4 separate regions of the Homo sapiens genome follow, and all the other regions are linked to region 1. The links are contacts of gene promoters, found by promoter capture Hi-C in blood cells and fetal thymus (Javierre and others, 2016). All regions are on one chromosome and are shown on one strand. Each heading gives the region's core, a stretch centred on a gene start or on the middle of the fragment in contact. The rest is flanking DNA. Distances are from core to core; before and after follow the strand shown.

Region 1 (3,737 bases), core at 500-2,999:
AGGCATTGTGGATAAGGGATCCTCAACCTGTAGTAATTTTATTGCGTCTCTCCCCCTCACTGAAATACCAGCTTCAACAGGGTGGGGCTTTTCATCTCTTCAGTCACTTATGCACTTCCATCCATGATGTGTCCTGATGACCTAGAACAATGCCTGACACTTAGGAAGTACTCAATAAAATATTTGTTGATGTAAATCAATTGAAATATCAGTCCCATAGGGATGGGGATTTTCATCCCTTTAGTCACTTATCCACTTACTTGATATATCCTCATTACCTAGAAGAATGCCTGACACTTAGCAGGTACTCAATAAATACTTGATGTGAGCTCCTGAAATGAGTTTAGTTCAAGGGGCTTTTTTACAATACCAATTATCCTAAAGTAAAGATGACTGCCTATATTTAAATTTCCTGACTCCGTAGGTTGTCAATAAACAGGGACTATGATCTGAAAGCAAAGTTCAGTTTAAAAAGAAAAGTATGTGCTTGTATGAGTCACAAAAAAGGGCTAAGTACAAAAGAACTGCTGAGGTAAACATGAACATCGTTCTGTGAACTTATGATTTAAATAAAATCTTTATCACCACACTTGCCAAGAGCAATATATCTTATCATGAACGTACATAAAAAACTCTTGTGTCTTTCCTCTTAATACTCGGAACATTATTTTTATTTTTATTACGAAGTTTGCATTGGAGAATATTGTAACTCACTGCACCTAGGTAAAAACTAAAGACATAAATCTGATGTTAGTTCTAAAAATCTACAAGGGTAATGATATGAATTTCACAGACATGGAAGCCTTGTTCAGAATAGATGATAATAGAAAGGCTCGGTAGAGCCAGGTTCATGAGTGTGTGACCTGTGCAGAAGTGGGTGCTTAGAAGGCCCATGGCTTGGGTTAATGCTCTGCTGTTGCCGTCTTGAAATTCTTCACAATTTATGAACAAGGGAACTTCATTTTCAGTTTACACGGAACCCTGCAAATTATGTACTTGGCTCTATCTTCCTTTGCAAACGGAGAAACAGGCTTCAAGAGTTTTGAAACTGCCATAATAGATCCAAAAACTGTGTATGCTTTTCACATCTGTACAATTTTGTTACGTATTTATAAACATCTGCTGAATGGATGACTCTATGTATTGGCCCACATCACTTCAGAACTAGGTCTTGAACTTAGGGATTGTGGCAAGAAGGAAAAAGGCAGCTTCCGGTGGCTCACAGGGCAGGCCAGGTGGCTCACACCTGTGAGCATTTTGGGAGGCCAAGGCGGGTGGATCACTAGAGTCCAGGAGTTCGAGACCGGCCTGGGCAATATGGCAAGATCCTATCTCTACTAAAAATACAAAAATAGCCTGGGGTGGTGGCACGCGCCTGTAGTCCCAGGTACTCCGGAGGCTGAGGCAGGAGGCACTTGAACCTGAAGGTCGAGGCTGCAGTGAGACCTGATCTCAACACACACAAAAGAATGACTCTCAGGCTTCTTTTTTTCTAATGGATGGAAGTGAAACCTCGAAAGCACATGGTCAAGTGCCTGACTCTTCCAAAACAAAAACAAAAACAAAAAAACTAGCCTCAGCAAGGAGGTCCGTAGCCTCCAGCTGACCGGATTTTCAGTCACAGAACACCGGGGACCTAAAAAAGGGTCAATCTCAGCATCGTGCACTCAACCCAGCTCCTTCCGCCCCTCGAGCCCAGGCTGGGAGGAGCCGAGGAACCGAAAGAGAAAACAGGCCGCGCGGGCGGCAGAGGAGCCGGGCGCCGCAATGGACGTGCGGGCGCTGCCGTGGCTGCCGTGGCTGCTGTGGCTGCTGTGCCGGGGCGGCGGCGATGCGGACTCCCGCGCCCCCTTCACCCCGACCTGGCCGCGGAGCCGCGAGCGTGAAGCCGCCGCCTTCCGGGTACCGAGCGCGCGCCTCCCCGGGATCTGTCCCTGCTCCCTCACTTCCTGTCCCGGGTCTGGGCTGCGGAAGAGGGCCCCCGAGAGCTGACCCTGCTCGTGGGCACCCGTGGCTCTGCGATGCGTCTGGGGCCCTGAGCTGCGGGTGCAAAAGCCAGCTTCTCTCTCCCCTCTCCTTGTGCCATGGTGTCACTCCCCCATGCCTTTGCTAACCAAAAGACTTGATTTTCCAGAAGAGATTTGTCGCTATGGATTTTTGGGACGCACCCAAATAAATCCATAGATACGTCCAAAGTGTCCTTGGTGGGAAGAAGCACCCCCTTTTAGCAATCCCCTCTATCGTTGCCACTGGCTTCCAAAGCTCTTCTATTTCTCTTTTATGAGAACCAGAAACAGGGAGCAGCCTGTTGGTGGAAGAAACCTGTCGTGTTTTTTTTTCCCGAGGAGGGCGCTAGTGATCAGAAGTTAGAAACAAAGAGCCTGTCTTTAGCCAGATTAAAGAATCCTGATGGTTTATGATTCTCCTTAAACTAACGCACCACTTTAAAAGTTCTTCCTGCCTTGGCGGAGACTGAGTTGAAGAAAAGAGAAGCATTTAATTTCCTTTTCATATTATTATACGAAATATAATATAATTTATATTTTATAATATTTATAATAAATACTTAGATTTGAGTCTAGCATGAAAACTCTGGAAGGGACCAGTTAGCTGAGCACAAATAATGATTTTCCTGAAACCAAGGAAACTGCAAGGGATGCCGATTTAGTGTTCGCCTCACTATGTTCTAGATAGCTGATACTATTTAACACATTTTTAAATTCATGAAAGATGCCATTATCATGATTTAATTTATTGGAAAAGAAAATTCTTTCATTCTGAATCAAACATAAGTCTGAGTTGAGTAATATTGCTCAAGGAAGTGTATCTTTTTTCCTGGTGTTTGTTGGAATTTCTCACAGGATTTCATAGCTGTGCTCTTTTCCCCCGACTCTCCTGGAAAGCTCCAATGTTTAGGAAGGCCAGCCTTCCCTGATTCTGTCCACTCTTACGTTTTGTCCAAACCGAGATGTGTACTGTTATCTCCACTTTATTATTCTTGAGTTCAGTTCTAGCTTTCAAAACCAGAAGTCCTCTTACTCTTTCAAGAACAAAATTCTGGCCTGTATTCTACCCCTATCCTCAACTTACGTTCGTTTTCCTGGTAAACGAAACCCCTTAGGGGAAAAGTCAGTTTCACCTTTATTGGTAACGTATTCATTGGCTAAATAAATAAACACACTGTCAGGCTCCTAAAAATAATATTTCAGGACAAAGCTCAAAGGGCTAGACTTATAAATATATTTTTAACATTTATTTAGATTTTAGATAATTTATAAATATATATGTGTATAATTTATGTAGTGACTCATACTGGTCCTGTAAAGAGGCCATACCCTGATGAATGTCTAGAAAATGTAACTTTTCTCAGGAGAAATACAAAGAAACAGGTTGAAAGATGGAAAGTTGGAAGTGGAGGAGGATCGAATTATGAAGACTCTTAGTACATTTTAAAAACCTCGGGTTAAGAAATACTGAAAAAATTTTCAAAGCAATTGCTGCCTGTAAGAATTTGCTTCATGAGATGGATACCCAAAAAAGAGAACATTGAGGCTTCAACGCACAGTTGCTGGAAACTGAACACCTCTCGGTGCTTAGTTGGACTTTATCCAAGAATGCTTTAAAACCGATTTTCTACCTTAGTGGTCCCCAATCTTTTGGCACTAGGGACCGGATTCATGGAAGACATTTTTTCCATGGACGGGAGGAGGGAAGTGGGGGAGATGGATGGATTTGGG
Region 2 (3,737 bases), core at 463-2,962, 2.2 Mb before region 1:
CATATCTATAGCCTTGGAAAAGATCAAAGTGTGGTTTCTATTGAATGCATGTAGCTTTTGCATCACTGTAAAGTTGAAAAATTGTAAGTTGAGCCATAACTTGGGGACCATCTGTACAAATCTCTGCATCAATAAAAAATCTTTGAAATGAAAGTGATTAAAACTCAATTTGAGCTTATTAGGCAAAAGGGTAAATTTATTGGCACATTAATTATGGTAAGGACAGGGATGATGGAACATCGAACTAGAGGCTCTAATCTGTATTATTCTCTTCCTTCTCCTCCTGTGAATCTTTCTAAACAGTGACTTCATTTTCTCAAGCTGGCTGAAATGATGTGCACCATCCCTCTTCCTGGGATCATAAACTCATTGCTTCATGACTAGAGATTAAATGTTCTCAATGTAAAAGTCCTGGAAGAAGGCTAATATTCCCACCTTGAGTAAAGTTCTCAACTGTGGGCCAATTGCTGTCCTAACAAGGAGATATACTGTTTTTGCCATAGCTTAGCCATGTATTCATTCTTACATCCAGGACAGTGATGGGGTCTATTACTAGAAGAAATGAGGAAAAAATGTTAGGTAGACAAAAGGTATAAGTTTGCTATCAAATCATAGTTGCTTTCTCCATTCTCTCCTGTACTCCTCCACTCCCCTTTCACATAATACAGAGAATTGGATTAGAAATTGTATGGATTGGTCGGGTGCGGTGGCTCACGTCTGTAATGCCAGCACTTTGGGAGGCCGAGGCGAGCAGATCACCTGAGGTCAGGAGTTCCAGACCAGCCTGCTTAACATGACGAAACTCTGTCTCTACTAAAAATACAAAAAATTAGTGGGGTGAGGTGGCAGGCACCTGTAATCCCAGCTACTCAGGAGGCTGAGGCAGGAGAATTGGTTGAACCCAGGAGGTGGAGGTTGCAGTGAGCCAAGATCATGCCACTGCACTCCAGCCTGGATGACAAGAGCAAAACTCTGTCTCAAAACAAAACAAAACAAACAAACAAACAAAATTGTATGGATCACCCAACAAATAATAGCTAAAGCTAAAAATGAAGGTGAAAGAACAGTAGTTTTTGCTTTCAGTTGCAGTGCTCAAATGCCATCTAAAAAAAAAAAATACATGTGGAAAACACTCCGCACTTGAAAGCTCAGAGACCTGAATTTTAGTCCCTCATCTGCCTCTAACATGTGACCTTGAACAAGTGACTAACATTACTCTTTCTCACTATCAATATGCCTGACATTATGAAAGTCAACAAGAAAGATTTAAAAAGTAGTTTAGGAAAATCTATATTTAAAATGATAGAATGCTCTATATCTTCTGAGAAAGCTGTTGATTTAATTTAAGAAAATTAAATAGGAGAGAAAGTCTTGTATAGTGAAAATATCACTTAATTTGAATTTAAGAGTTCTGATTCTGTCTGACTCTCAAGTTATTTACTGGTAGGCCCCTCAAGCTGCTGCTTCTATAAAATCAGTGGGTTATATTTAGTTTATCTCTTAGGTCTCTTCCAGTTCTAATATTCCATAAAAATACAATGAAACCTCAATTATCCAAACCTTATATTGCTTGCTTCTTATAAAATGGAAATGTGTTTATCCTTCTGGAGGTTTGTAGCATTTCTTAAATCTGAAAAATTCTTGGCTACTTTCTCTTCAAATATTGTTTTAGTCCCATTTTCTTCTCCTTTCTTTCTGTACCTTGAGTAAACCTTTTAATTATATCTGATAAGTTTCTCATGCCCTTTCTGGATTCTCCATCCTCTTAACTGTCCGTGTGTCCGTTTGGGTATTTTCTTCTGACCTACCTTTTAGTTTATAAATTCTCTTTTCAATTGTATATATTTTGTTTTTTTAATACGTGAACTATGAGGTGCTTATTGATAATTTCCTTGTACATATCTTGTATTGAATTCAGTGATCTTACTTAATCTTTGGGTTGATAAGTTTTTTGAGTTTGAAAATTCTATCATCATCTTTTAAAATATTGTTCTGCCACCATGTCTTTCTCTTTTCTTTGGGTCATCTAGTTACACCTATGTTTGATTTTTTAACTGTGTCCAATACATATCTTAAACACTTGGTTTTAATTTTTTTCTATTTATTTTTCTAACACTTTGCCTTTATATTTAATATTTTCTAGGGACCTGTTTTTAATTTCATAAACCTCGTGTTCTGCTTTGTTCTATCTGCCTTTAAAACCAAATAAATTTTTTTAAATTTCAGATTTCTAAAAAATTTCAGACTAAGAATGTCCACTTAATTTTTTTTTTTTTTTTTTTTTTTTTTGAGACAGAGTCTCACTCTCTCACCCAGGCTGGAGTACAGTGGCATGATCTCGGTTCACTGCAACCTCCACTTCCTGGGTTCAAGCGATTCTCCTGCCTCAGCCTCCTGAGTAGCTTGGATTACAGGAGCGCACCACCATGCCTGGCTAATTTTTGTATTTTTAGTAGAAATGGGGTTTCACCACGTTGGTCAGGCTGATCTCAAACTCCTGACCTTGTGATCCACCTGCCTCGGCCTCCCAAAGTGCTGAGATTACAGGCATGAGCCACTGTGCCTGGTCCCACTGATTTTTTATAGCTTCTAATTTTCTGTTGAAATTCTCCCACTCCTTATCTTTTGCTTTACTTTCTTTTATCGATCAATCTAAGTATTTTAAAGTCTGAGTATCCTGTAGAACTCTCTCTAAGTCATTATCTCTATCTTACCAGTAGGGAAACTAAAAAATTTCATGAAGAATAAAATCCATTGTACAATGCGTAATATAGTCAAAGATCTTGAAAAAGAATTGGTGTCTAAACCATTATTTTTCACTTTTAATCAATAAACATTATTCCTCTTTAGAGGAGGTAAAAAAACCCATATAAAATATACTGAAAATAAATTTCATTAAACATTAAATGATGAATAGTTCTAAATCTATCTTCTTTGCATTCATTAACTAGCACTTCAGAGCAAAAATAATGGTAGCTTTTGTTATGGCTTCATATTTCTTTAAAATATTGACTTAAAATAGATTTTCAATCTGGGGAATAGATAAGAACTAATGCCATTTGGTTTTAAATAGAATTGTGTTGTAATCCTCAAGCTAAAGGCATAGCAAAAAAAAAAAAAATGACAACATCACTGGAAATTTGCCTCAGTCTACTTACTGTTCACCATTTAATTAGACACTTTTTAATTCTGGCAGAAAGTCTAAGGAATTCATGGATCCACCTTCTAAGCACATCAAGGAGTGTTAATACACTGGACAGTTAGAACAATGGCAGCAGAACATCTTATTTAAACTCTTGACATAATAAAATAATTTTTTCTTGTTTTGGTAATAATATCATTAATACTTTACAGTTGTGGCATACTACAATGTTAAAGATTCAATTAAGCAAGAGAGCACCATAATACACTTTAAATAAGACTGCTATAACTTTCACAGGCACGGTTTCAAACAAGACTAGTCAACCCTCATTATTCATTAGGACTACTTCATATAAGTCAGCTTACCAATAAGTAGCATTTTACAAAAGCCTCTTATCTACTGACTTACCATATAGGTCTTAGGAAAAATGTTTTATTTTTGAATAGTTATATGGATACTATAAAGATGGTGACTGTTTATCACTATGTTGTGAAATTTCTTGCCTTCCTTCAATTTTTTTTTTAAGTGGAGAAATGATTTTCTAAAAAGTCTGAGTCTTCTAAGCATAGCTCATCTCCTGGTAAAAATTGCAGTG
Region 3 (3,737 bases), core at 606-3,105, 2.0 Mb before region 1:
GTTAACCACAAGCTTCAAAACACCCTCCGCCCTGTCTGACACTCCTACTCATTTTCCGATTGTCTGAGATGACTGTGTTATCCTTCATGTTCTTGTCCCCAAGTTCTTCCGCTATCTTTCGCAAGCCTTGCTCTCAGAAGATTATTTAGTGTTATAATTCATGGGTTAATTAGATGCAGGATATCAGAACATCCTCTACTTACCTAAAATTATAAAAACTTAGCTACGTTTGTATCCATAATGCTGTAGTCTACTTGTTAACATGGAAGACGTGCCTGTTCTCCAACAAGGCCAAGTCCTCCACCGAAGATTGGTCACTTTCACACAAAAGAAATCTAACAACTTTCTTCATTCTGCTTGTTAAAATGGAAGCGCCCCTGCGCTAATCACAGGTGAACCTTTCTGTTCACCTGAATTTTATTCCTTGGGGCTTCTGAAGACTTCTTTACCTGCCTCCATTTGAATCACATCTCTCTCTCTCAGATTGGTTCAATCTGACTGATGCGTAGTCAGACTCTCAGGGTGTCTTCGAACTTTTTCTCTATAAAGAGCAACGGACAGTCCCAACAAAAATAACAAAATTTTGATCACGCATTAATTTCTCTGCATCCTTCTCAGCAACAGGACATATAATTGTCCTCACTCGTCGCCTTCATTTTATTCCTTTGCATTCACTTTTTGTCCTACTTAAATAATTTTAATGTAGTTTTTTGAGAAGGCAATATATGACTGTCTTAAAAAATTTGAGCAGTACAGAATGTTAGCACCCTTCTATCATCAATCCCCAATACTAAGATTTCTCCAAGTTGAAGTGATTTTTTTTTGCATAGATTAAAGTATGCTTTGCTTTTCCACTTATCAAGGAGATCTTTCATGAAGTGTACACAGGTATGTCTCATTCCTTTTAACCACTTCTGGGCTTGCTGTCACATAAATGTATTTACACAGTTCCCTACAATGAAGATTTATAATGCTTGCAATCTCTTGCTAACACAGAAAATACGGCTGGGAAAATCTTTGTAATTATATTTTTATGCCATGTATTTATGGGATACACTCTTAAAAGTGGGATTATTGAATCCAAAGGATATGTTTATTTATAATTTTGGTAAATGTTGGAAAATTGCCTTCCAGATGTTTTACTAACTTAAATTTATACCAGTACTGTATAAGAGTGCTTGATTCTCCACACCTTCACTAATACAGTGTAGTAAGAGAATTTTGCTTTTTGCCAAATGCAGTATTTGAAAACTTGATATCCAAATGCAATTATAATTTACATTCATTTTATTATGACTGAGGCTGATCATATTTTCAAATTTTAAAAGGCTTTGCGTTTCTTTTTATTTCTGAATTCATGTCTTTGCCCATTTTTTTTACATTGGTTTGTTTATAATTTTCTCATTAGTTTGTATGGGCAATGTATATATATATGTTAAGAAAATAAACATTTCAGCAGCTGGATTACTAAAATATTTAAGCTAGTAAGTTTGTAAATTTTTTTCTTTTTCTTAAATTTATTAAGTTTAAAACTTAATTTTGATGGACTCAAATTTATACATTTTTAAATAGTTTTGCACCATGTTTTGAAAGTTTTTACATCATGCTTATAAATACCTTACACTATCAAGTATATGAGAAGGTTTGCCAATGTTTTTCTTTCATTTCCTTTCAATTTTATAGTTCGGTTTTTACACTTTGAAAACATTGGTCCTTCTGAAATGTATTTAAGAAGCAAGAGAGAGAATCTAGCTCATTCGTTTTCCCTAGATGCTACCCAATTATTCCAGAATTATTTGATCCACACACCTCCCCCTGTCTGCCTCTCAATACCCATGGATTTAGAATGCCACTTTCACCAGTAACTAACAACCCATATATATTTAAGACTATATCTGACTTTTTGGTTATATTGACTATTTGTGGCCAGTGCTAGTATTTCCTATTGTTTTAGAACATTTTTTTTTCTTGTATAGCTAGCCTTTGCTTATTATTCTTCTGCTTCATATTTTCTTGGATATTATTACACGTTTATTTTTTCTTTGTAGACTTTAGAATCAATTCATAACATTCCTAATCATGAGAGAAATACAAATCAAAACCACAATGATATACCATCTCACACCAGTCAGAATGGTTATTATTAAAAGTTAAAAATCAACAGATACTGACTAGGATGTGGAGAAAAGTGAATGCTTATTCACTGTTGGTGGAAAGATAAATTAGTTCAGCCCCTTTGGAAAGCAGTTTGGAGATTTATCAAAGAACTAAAAATAAGACCACCATTCAACTCAGCAATTCCCTTACTGGGTATCTACCTGAAGGAAAAGAAATTGTTTTACCAAAAAGACACCAGCGCTCGTATGTTCACCACAGCACTACTCACAATAGCAAAATCATGGAACATCCTAGGTGCCTATCAACAGTGGACTGGATAAAGAAATTGTGGTACACATACATAATAGAATACTATGCAGCCATTAAAAAAATAAAATTATGTCCTTTGCAGCAACATGGCTGCAGCTACAGGCCATTATCCTAAGTGAATTTGAGCAGGAACAGATAATCAAATACCACATGTTTTCACTTATAAGTGGGAGCTAAACACCGGGTACATGCGGACACAAAGATGGAAATAATAGACACTGGGGACTCCAAAAGGAGGGAGGGAGGGAAGGTGGCAAGGATTGAAAATTACCTATTGGGTATTGTGTTCTCTGTTTGGGTAACGGGTTCAGTAGGAGCCCAACCTCCAGTATCATGTAACATATCCATGTAACAAACCCATACGTATATCCCCTGAAATTAAAATAAAAATAACAACAACAACAACAACAACAACAAAGTTTTATGAAAAACTCTGGAATAAATTCATTTGTATTGAGTTAAATGAATAAATTATCTTAGGGTAATAGATATATTTATAATGAGTCATTTCATCAAAGCACAATAAAAAATTTAAACTGTTTACTCTTTTAAAACTTAGGTAGTTTTATTATTATTTTATGAGTCTAGACTTCCTGGAGTTCTTATTAGATTTATTTGTAATTTAATGCTACCCAGAGTTTTAAAAAATTACATTTTTTAGCTGCTTATTGTTGCAGTCACTCAAGAGTAGCTCTTGTCACCCCAAGTCCACTGAAATGTTTGTTGTTAAGGGGACCAGTGATTTTTCTTTTGCAGAACCCAGTGACCTCTTCTGTATTCTTCCTTATTTTGATTTGGAGCAGCATTTGACCCTACACTCAATCTATCTTCCTTGAGAATCTTTCCTCCTGTGGTTTCTTGGGCACTGTATCCTCCTGATTTATTTGTTTTTTTACCTAATTCACCAGGGACTTTTCCTCTACCTACTTTGCTGTCCCTTCCTCCTTATCTAACTTAAATATTGAAATGCCTTTGGGTCCTTTTGTCTTCTCTAGCTACAGTCTCCCTAGGTGATGCCTTTCAGCTTGCTACATATTAACTTACATGTTCTATTTCATGAGATAATCATGAGAGACTTTCAGATATTTAAAACTAACCTCCCACTAGCGGTTCATATAGCCCTGGATGAAAAGTTGTTTATCACCCTTCAAAAGGAGGTACATATATGGTTTTTAAAGAAACTTTTGGAAGGGATAACTGACTCCCTCATTATCTGAGCTATAATTTTCACATTTGGAATAATACAACTGGCAAAATGGTGCAAAGCTTTACTTTGACCCCAGCAAAAGCCATAAATAATATAACTTATA
Region 4 (3,737 bases), core at 829-3,328, 2.0 Mb before region 1:
CAGAGAGATTCATTAAATTATCCAAGGCAACACAGCCAGTTAGTAAAGTCAGAAGTCAAACCTAGACACTGGCCCCAGAACTTACGCACTTAGCCACAGCACCATGGTGACTGTTCTTGCACGATTAAATGCCAGAAGGGGTAGTACTGACATCAGTAATTCATGTTGCCTTCAATTAATGCCCATCTCTCTGCCCATACTCTAACTGGCATTTTAAGATTGTTTATGTTTCTTTTTCACTGAACCCAATAAAACAATTCTGAGGTTTCTTATGTTTACCCATTTTAAGAAGGACCTTATATTATCTGGCATTTTGACTAGATGGATAGCAAACACAATTTTTTTATAGTTTATGAAAAAGGAGGAAAAACTTTTTAGCATTTACTGACTAAACAATACTGAAGAAAACCATATTATGACCATCTACTCATTTATCAAAAAGAAAGGTAAAGGTAGACTTCTTTTGATTATTAAAGTCACTGACTGTCTTATGATTACATGATACTGGAGTTTTTCATTGCTTAATTGAATTTTGTGGCTATCAAAGGTCAACATGATGAAAATCATTCTTTTGAAAACTTCCATCGACAGTACAAAGCATTATTTGGTATAGTTATATAAAAGAAAATGTTGGCATAGTTATTTGTTAGCATGTATTGATTTTACCTAAGTCAAATTTGGGTAGTAATTGTCAATTTACTTTTGTTTTTAGATGAATAATTCAATGAAAAAATAGGATTAGTATAAACAGTTGAAAGTCAGTAAATAAAGCAAAGGGTAAGATTTTTATTTTATTTTGTTCCATGAATATGTTACATAAAATTAAGTGTTTGGAAGACAGTTTTTTCTTAAGAGTTATTTTTATTTCTCAAAAAGACAGGTTTTTTTTTTTTTTTTTTTTTTTTTTAGCTGTTTGGAAGCTCGGAGACATATTTGTATTGCAGCCGTAAAAACTATATAGGCATTGCAACAATTGCTTTTACCTGTTCTCTATCCTGGCCTTCTGCTATTTTATTTTATGTGTCTCTTGATTTAATTCTTTTTTTTAACAAGTATATTTTCCAAGCTTCATCAGATGGATATACAGTTGGGGTGCAAATGATGAAACAACACACAGCTCCATCCACCAATTTTTAAAACTCTAGCTAGCATTCAAGATCTGATTGAGGGTTAAAGGGTGGGGAGGACACCCTTCAGGTGATGCAAGACATGATTTTTAAATTTTCTTTAGCTCTCGGAGCTCTTGATTTCATAGGTCATCAAGAAGTCTCACAGTCGTGAAATCTTTTACTTCCTAAATATTTTAATCATCAAGGTTTGCAGCAGAGACAGGAAGAGGAAATGGGCCTCAAAGTCTTATTTTTTTTCATGGAGATATATTTGTCTCTTAAGAATATCTCTTCAACCTCAGAACTTCCTTGATGATTTCTGTTAGGAAAATAAAATCTTAACTTCCATGTTATTACTCATCTTCTACTGCTAACCTTGGAGACTCTAGATGTGATTTTATGAAGGTTTTCTATTGTCAGTGAATCTGAGTACCAGGTAACGTGGCATGGATGCCTCAGTGGTGCCATTTGCTGTTTGCAAGCTCTAGAGTGACATCTCCTGCAGCACCCACACCACCACTATATCTTTTCAATTGACTGCTTTTCCAGGTGCTGAGACCAAGCCTTTGCAGAAGCTTGGTTCAATGAAACATGTGCCAGTGAAACAAGCTACCATGGCCCATCATCATGGCACTGATATTTACCTAGGCAATAGCCTTCTCTTTTCCCATTTCCCCATAGTTTAAATATTTAATAACATATTGACTGATCTGCTGTTATTATTACATGCCAGACACTGATATCTTTAGTGACTTATTCTCACTGTTCCATTATAATTGTGAATAGCTCACACATACCTACACACAGAGTCCTTGTACTTATGGCACTTACATTGAAGGGGAGACACAAAATTTGGCAGATAAATAACTGTTGTAATCCTGGGTTTTGAAAAGTTACAGGTGCAGTAATAGAGAATAATTGGAAGGGTAGATAGGTAATCCAGGAAGATTTCTACAAAGATTTAGTGAGCACATTCAATCTCAGAAGCTGCCCAATGCACATATTTCTACTTTATCATTATTTGTTGGTGTAACTGCTCTGAAATCAATCCAAACTTTTATGAAAGTAGCAGGATAGAAATAATGAGTAGCAGAAATTGCTAGCTAGCAAACTAGTAATATAGATATAGATGAGTATGAGGTTTGGGACCATAAAAAGAAACATAATTGGTAAACTAGTTTCTACTTCAGTGTAGATAATTTCAATTATATGACCAGCAGGTGTCTGATATTAAAGTCCTGCAAATCTTATATCTAAAGTTGTTTACTCATAGTAAATCTTCTGGCGCTTCACTGATCTATACAAAGAGAAAGGAATTGAGCTAAGCTATAGAATGTTGCAAGAGGGAATTTGTGCAAGCTTATTCCAAATTCTGATAAATATGCCTTGAACATTGTAAAGATTTCTGATGACGAACATATATTGAATCAGCTTTAGGATCATTAGGCAGAGAAAACACTGGATTGCTGTTGCTACAGTGCAGTGATTTACCAGCTTTCTTCATGCTCAATTAGAAGTTTCTAGAGCACAGAAGTTATCAAGTCTTCCACAGAGGCTGAAAAGGAGAGCAAAGAACACAGAGTCAAACTCCTATCTTGTTTGGCTAAGTAATTAATTTTAACTGCATTGCAATCTGAAGTCTGTTGTAAAAAGACCGAAGAAGTCAGAGAGAAGCAGTAAAATAGTATGAACTAGGTAGAAGGTAGGATTCCAATGACACACTGGAGGCCAGCTGCAAGGAATATAATTTAAGAAGTCTCGGCCAGGCGGGGTGGCTCACGCCCGTAATCCCAGCACTTTGGGAGGCTAAGGTGGGCAGATCACCTGAGGTCAGGAGTTCGAGACCAGCCTGACCAACATGGAGAAATCCCGTCTCTACTAAAAATACAAAATTAGGTGGGCGTGGTGGCACATGCCTGTGATCCCAGCTACTGGGGAGGCTGAGGCAGGAGAATCGCTTAAACCTGGAAGGTGGAGGTCGCAGTGAGCCGAGATTGCGCCATTGCACTCCAGCCTGGGCGACAAGAGTGAAACTCCATCTCAAAAAAAAAAAAAAAACAAAAACAAAAACAAAAGACCAAAACCAAAAACCAAAAACAAAAAACTAACTTTTGGAAAAAGTATTACAGAAGCAGACAACATAACCATTTTTTCAGAAGTATAGTATGTATAATGAACAGTATTAGATAATAAAATAACTAACCTCCTGCAGATTTAACAACATGCATGCTTCAATTATGCTGCATTGCAAAAAAGAGTTTCCAGTGGTAATATTAGGACTCAAAGACTGTATTAATTATCAAAGAAATATAATTATTTTTATAGACCAATATCTTTATTTAAAAGAAGCTGAAAACACTTTCTTATTTACATTAATGAAAGTCTGTGAAAGTAGAGGGAAAAGAAGCATGCCGTTAATTTTAGTTCATGTTCCTTTATATTTTGCTCTTCTGTCCTCTGACTACCAGCCTTTAATCTCCTTTTTACCCAGATATTCAAGGGTCTTATTGGAACATCTGGAAAATAGCTTATTTATAAACATGATTTTAAGAATTATAATCTTCTATAAGATATAGCTTTACAAATGGAATTAAAAAACAGAAAAGGAGTGACATTACTGTGATTTAT

The links. Contacts are between HindIII fragments. The CHiCAGO score rates a contact against its expected background, and 5 or more counts as called.
Region 2: a contact is called between a fragment that was not itself captured here and the fragment with the promoter of CTSO in region 1, in 1 of 17 cell types (monocytes). The highest score is 5.4, in monocytes.
Region 3: a fragment that was not itself captured here is called in contact with the fragment with the promoter of CTSO in region 1 in 1 of 17 cell types (monocytes); the score reaches 5.9 in monocytes.
Region 4: a contact is called between a fragment that was not itself captured here and the fragment with the promoter of CTSO in region 1, in 7 of 17 cell types (naive CD8 T cells, monocytes, non-activated CD4 T cells and 4 more). The highest score is 10.0, in naive CD8 T cells.

What each region holds. Positions count from the first base shown.
Region 1 is chr4:155,951,878-155,955,614 of GRCh38, reverse strand. It overlaps CTSO (cathepsin O), which reads left to right and starts at 1,749. Exons shown (of 8, transcript NM_001334.3): 1 at 1,749-1,902. The coding sequence starts at 1,768. RefSeq lists an enhancer at 344-638. The HindIII fragment of the contact is 8,738 bases long and covers 1-3,737 here.
Region 2 is chr4:158,183,234-158,186,970 of GRCh38, reverse strand. All of the region lies in intron 2 of GASK1B-AS1 (GASK1B antisense RNA 1), which reads right to left. It also overlaps the pseudogene NUDT19P5. Among named protein-coding and RNA genes, the nearest start is that of GASK1B, 12 kb to the right of the region's middle. The HindIII fragment of the contact is 5,491 bases long and covers 1-3,737 here.
Region 3 is chr4:157,997,109-158,000,845 of GRCh38, reverse strand. All of the region lies in intron 1 of LOC105377509 (a long non-coding RNA gene), which reads left to right. Among named protein-coding and RNA genes, the nearest start is that of GASK1B-AS1, 170 kb to the left of the region's middle. The HindIII fragment of the contact is 3,681 bases long and covers 15-3,695 here.
Region 4 is chr4:157,972,489-157,976,225 of GRCh38, reverse strand. The region is part of intron 2 of LOC105377509 (a long non-coding RNA gene); the gene reads left to right. Among named protein-coding and RNA genes, the nearest start is that of GASK1B-AS1, 200 kb to the left of the region's middle. The HindIII fragment of the contact is 784 bases long and covers 1,687-2,470 here.